2 separate regions of the Homo sapiens genome follow, and region 1 is linked to region 2. Evidence: promoter capture Hi-C in human tissues and cell types (Jung and others, 2019). All regions are on one chromosome and are shown on one strand. The core of a region is centred on a gene start or on the middle of the fragment in contact, and the rest is flanking DNA. Distances in the headings are between cores, read along the strand shown. Region 1 overlaps SHB (SH2 domain containing adaptor protein B). Region 2 holds the start of CLTA (clathrin light chain A).

The links. The method cuts DNA at HindIII sites, captures the fragments that hold promoters and counts their contacts. A contact is called where the count stands out against the background at its distance.
Region 1: a fragment that was not itself captured here is called in contact with the fragment with the promoter of CLTA in region 2 in 1 of the 25 tissues and cell types used here (hippocampus).

What each region holds. Positions count from the first base shown.
Region 1 is chr9:38,059,836-38,062,535 of GRCh38, forward strand. All of the region lies in intron 1 of SHB (SH2 domain containing adaptor protein B), which reads right to left. Among named protein-coding and RNA genes, the nearest start is that of SHB, 8.0 kb to the right of the region's middle. RefSeq lists an enhancer at 1-258. The HindIII fragment of the contact is 7,557 bases long and covers 1-2,700 here.
Region 2 is chr9:36,189,646-36,192,345 of GRCh38, forward strand. It overlaps CLTA (clathrin light chain A), which reads left to right and starts at 1,276. Exons shown (of 5, transcript NM_001833.4): 1 at 1,276-1,628. The coding sequence starts at 1,412. RefSeq lists enhancers at 911-1,536, 1,252-1,471. The HindIII fragment of the contact is 4,306 bases long and covers 1-2,700 here.

The sequences.
Region 1 (2,700 bases), core at 194-2,693, 1.9 Mb after region 2:
GCACTCCTCCCCATGAGCCTCTGTTTCTCCATCTGCAAAGGGGAGATTACAGCCCATTCCTCGCAGAGTGGCTCTGAGAAGCAAACAAATTACCGGTGTGAAAGTGCCCTTTAAGCTGTGGAATACTTACATAAATGTTGGAATCAGTCACTTCTACCATGCCAACAGAGGGGACATTTTACAAAGAGTAAGTCTAGCCACAAATAAGGCAGAGATGATAAAGCAAATTCAGGCATGGGATTGTGCAGCTTGAGGTAGTATGGCACAGTGGTTACAAACAGATGCTAGATCTGGCTTCACATCTCATCTCTGCCACTTACTGGCTGTCTGACTTTATTATTATTATTATTATTTTTTGAGATAGTGTCTCGCTTTGGTGCCCAGGCTGGAGTGCAGTGGCCTGATCTCGGCTCACTACAACCTCTGCCTCCCGGGTTCAAGCAATTCTCCCACCTCAGCCTCCCAAGTAGCTGGGATTACAGACATGTGCCAACACGCCGAGCTAATTTTTGTATTTTTAATAGAGACAGTGTTTCACCATGTTGGCCAGGCTGGTCTCCAACTCCCGACCTTAGGTGATCCACCTTGGCCTCCCAATGTGCTGGGATTACAGGAAGTGCTGGGATTACAGGCATGAACCACCGACCTGACTTTAGACAAGTGACTTAACCTGTCTGTGCCTTGGTTTCCTCATATGTAAAAATGAAAATAGAAGTAGCAGTAGTAGTAGCTACCTCAAAGGACTGTAGTGAGGAGTAAAGTTACATACAAAGCACACAGAACTGCACCTAGCTCAGAGTATGTATAATAAAAGTATTAGCTAATATTACTGTAGTGGAAAACTCCCTTAATTCAAGTGATTGTACCTTTTTTACTCAAATACCTCCTCCTCACCCTGCATCTCCTGTGGCTCCATGAAATCAAGGCCCTGCCCAGAACAGTCTCTGTGCCAAGACAGCTTTTAGCTCACCCACACCACTTTATTTACAGATAAATTCTGACATACAGATGTGGGTTTCAACCTTGGTTCCTGTGTCCTCAACCAAAAGATAAGCTTTTCAGGGGCGGGCACTATCCAGGCCCTGGTTCATCCCTGTATCCACACAGCTCCTGATGGTGGCCTGCATATAGCAATTGCTCAGTCAGCACAGGCCAAATGAAAGCTAGGAAGTCAGAGACGACCACCACCTTTGTCCTGCGGAAAATGCACAACCTTCTGGGCACAGTGGCTCACACCTGTAATCCCAGCACTTTGGGAGGCCAAGGCAGACGGATCACTTGAGCCCAGGAGTTTGAGATCAGCCTGGGCAATAAAAAAATACAAACATTAGTTGGGTGTGCTGGCGTGTGACTATAGTCCCAGCTACTTGAGAGGCTGAGGTGGGAGAATCGCCTGAGCCTGGGAAGTTGAGGCTGCAGTGAGCTGTAATCGTGCCACTCACTCCAGTATGGGGGACAGGAGTGAGATCCTGTCTCAAAAAAAAAAAAAAAAAGAAATAGAAAATACATCACCCCTACCACCACCATCAACCAACCTCACAAAGCCACAGGGTGTGTTGCCGTCAGCCAGCCAGCATGCGAGCTCTGTTGGAAAGTCACACGTCCCAGTTTATTTTCTAGGGCCAAGCCTGGCCTACCCATTCCCCACAGGCCACCACTTCTGGGCTCTCCCAGCACAAGCTAAGCTAATCAGGGGAAGGCTTGACCACAGGCAAGTTAGACCTTGCTGACTGATCAGAAGAAACCACAGCTGTTTCAGATTTGACTTTTAAAGCTAATTTTTATGGGTCAGAAATGCTCTGGGGGCAAAGAGAGGATAGGGTCAAGTCATGGGGGTTAAGCCCTGGGGTAATCAGTCATGTTCTGAGATTGTCAGATTAGAGAGGACAGTCACCTGATCTCCTTCAAGGAAACTTAAGTTCCTTGTTGATCAGGGCCAATGTACCGCCAGTCTCTTCCTCCAAACAGAGCACACACAGCCCGGCAAATCCTTGAAGGGAAGGAATGCTTGGTGTTAGAATGAGAAGACATGACAGTTACAAGACTCACGTTTTGTGCAGCTGTCCCTTGGGATGTGCCAACTCTGTGCTCAGAATTTCTCTATAAAATAACTCAAGTGCTGCATTAACATCTCATTTCTGGAACTCTGAGGCAGATGGGAGACAGAGAAACAGAAAAGCCAGCTCTAGGGCCTCTTCTAGGGACACCAAAGCAAAGGCTGAAAGCGGAGAAATTACAGCAGAGGGATGCAAGAAGAGTAGCATTAAGTAAAGGGGAGGAGGAGACATGTAACATATATTCCAGTAAATATCCAAGCCTCATACTACTTATTTCCATTGAAACCACGGAAAATAGAGGAAGCATATAGGTTTTGAACTCAAGACTGCACTGGTGTGATCCTTGCTCTATCACTTTGCAGCTGTGTGACATTAGGCAAGTCATCAACCTCTCTAAGCCTCAGTTTCTTTATCCGGAATATGGGGATAAGGTAGATGATGGCATCGAAGGCCCTAATTAATGGCTTGCCTGTATCCCTGCCCTTTGCCATGGGACACTGCAGCTCCTCCTCTCTCCTTGAATTGTGGCTGGCCTTATGATTTGCTTTAGTCAACAGAATGCAGCAGAAGGGTCACCATGCCAGTTTCCAACCTCAAGAGACCTTATGCGCTCCTGCTTTTTCTTGGAACCCTGCTGCCGTCA
Region 2 (2,700 bases), core at 26-2,525:
ATGGTTCATACTTTAAATGACTTTAAAATTATGCTTTAAGTAAATATATGCTTTAAATAATTTTTATTTGCTTCATTTTTCCTTCATAGCTATCCCTTTTTTTTTGTCATCAAAGATATGTGCGTTTTTTATAAAAACACTTTCTTGTCCCCTGCTGACTACCTCTGGAAGCTTCTTGTTGACCTCTGGTTTTTTGGTTTCTTTTTTTGGCTTTTCATTTCTTAGGGTGGTGGTGGTGGTAGTGAAGGAGAGGGGTCTTCTGGTGGCCCCTGCATAAGCACTCCCCCTCAACATGAGCATGATTAACTGGAACCACTGTTATTTCTGTGGTGTAGACAAAATGAGCCATGTAGCTATTAACATCTCCCTGATTTAAAAAGAAACACGGAACTTTCTTTTTCCTGCTGTCCTTAGGGAGGAAAGGTGTAAATATAAGAGACTGTAGCTAGTATCTTGGAAGTCCCCAGGAGACAGGCGTTTCCTCTTGGTCACTGACTCTCTGGGTCACTGACGCTCCTTGAACAGCAGGGCCACCGTGTCTCCCTTTGAAGCAAGTGATCCTTAAGGAATTTTCCAGGTTTAGTAACTTCTGTCTAGCTCCGAAAAGACGTAATGGCTGCAAAAGTGCTTCGTTGAAGAAGATAAGATATATTCATTTTTAAATAAAAATACTTATGGGCGAGAAAAATCGGAGTGGACTGAATCAATTACAGTAAATCTATGGGCTCTAAGGGAGCAAATAATCCAGGCTGGCTGAAAGAATTAAATATTTTAAATTTATAAAGCCAGGGACCCTCAAATCCATAAAAGGATTCAATCTTCTTCTTCTTTTTTTTTAGGATTCAATCTTCTAATAATCCCGGGAGGGGGCGCAAGAGCAGGATTCTTGTTTCTATTTTACGAATGAGGAAACTGAGGTTCAGAAAGCCTAAGTGGCATGCCTCTTCAGTAATCGGCCAATCGTCGCTGCCCTAACTTCACCTCACCTCCCAGTGCAGCACTAGAGTCCCCTCAGGGGTGGCCGTCCCTGGTCAGTCCAGCTCCAGCAGACGGGGTGGGTAGGACGCTCCCTATCAGGCAGCACTTCCGCCTCCCGGGGCCCGCGCAGCTCACCTCCCTCACCTCCCGCCCTACCCCAGTCACGAGTTGTTTTAGGGGGACCGCCCCTCCACTTGCTGATTGGGTAGCTCCTGAACCATTGTTGTCCTCTGATTGGTTGTTCCCTTTTCGGCTCTGCAACACCGCCTAGACCGACCGGATACACGGGTAGGGCTTCCGCTTTACCCGTCTCCCTCCTGGCGCTTGTCCTCCTCTCCCAGTCGGCACCACAGCGGTGGCTGCCGGGCGTGGTGTCGGTGGGTCGGTTGGTTTTTGTCTCACCGTTGGTGTCCGTGCCGTTCAGTTGCCCGCCATGGCTGAGCTGGATCCGTTCGGCGCCCCTGCCGGCGCCCCTGGCGGTCCCGCGCTGGGGAACGGAGTGGCCGGCGCCGGCGAAGAAGACCCGGCTGCGGCCTTCTTGGCGCAGCAAGAGAGCGAGATTGCGGGCATCGAGAACGACGAGGCCTTCGCCATCCTGGACGGCGGCGCCCCCGGGCCCCAGCCGCACGGCGAGCCGCCGGGGGGTCCGGGTGAGAGTGCGGGCGCGTTTGGGGCGAGAGGACTTGTCTGGAAACTCGGTCCACAGTGGGTCCGAGAGCTTCTGTGTGACTCGTGCTCCTTGCTGAATTAGGAGGTTAGGGAGCAGTGCAAACAGGAAACGAGACCCTGGCCCGGTCTTTCAGAAACCTAGGCTCGAGAAGCCTGTTCGGTTCTCAGCATGTTTGAGTGCTTCTGGGCGCGGGCGGAGCGAGAAAGCAAGTGTAGGGTGGCAGGCTCCGGAGCCGGAAGAAGCCCGTTCAATTCAGCAACTTTTCATTAAGCATTTGCTGTGCCTTTAGTCCGGTCTCTGAAGCAACCGCATTGGCGCAGTTTTTCCAGACTTATAAGCTTATAAGTCTGAGCCGAGCACAGAACTCGTTATTAGAAAAGGAGGGCGGAAAAAAATAAGAATGGAAATATCGTTTTTGAGAGATACAAACAAAAGTAGCAATGCAGTTCAGCATTTAAGCACTTAAGGTGTACAGAGTGTTGGATTACGAGGAGGAAGGAGGGAGTAGGGAACTCGAAAGATGATCTAGGTCTGGAGAAAGAACTGCCAAGCGCGGTAGGAGTTTGCTATCGTTGAGCGATTGATTTACAGCTAGGACTTCTGGAGCTCTTCCTCTGGGAACAGCTTTGGTAGGCAATATTGCCTAAGCAGAACCCAAGATTAGCCTAAACCAATCAGGGAGGGATGAAGAGGTGAATAGAGAATGTTCTCAGCCAAACTCAAGTAAAAATGGGGCAGGTAGGATGGCAGTTTGACCTTTGGATGCCTTAACCTGTGTGTGATGCTTAGGATCATGAGTGGAAAAGACCTACTTAATAATACAAAGAAGTAGGAAATTTAGCTAGAAGAAATGAAATACGGCTTTTCATTCACTTAAAAAATTCCAACTAAGGGAGAATAGGGCACTACTGGGGCATATAGGAGTAGTGTCTACCCTAAATTCAAACCTTAAGGAGCCAGGTAGGTAACATATACGAGAGAAGCTGGCTTGACATGAGACAGTAGAAGTGTTGGAGACTGAGGCTTTGCTGCACTATAGTAGTGCTCTGTGT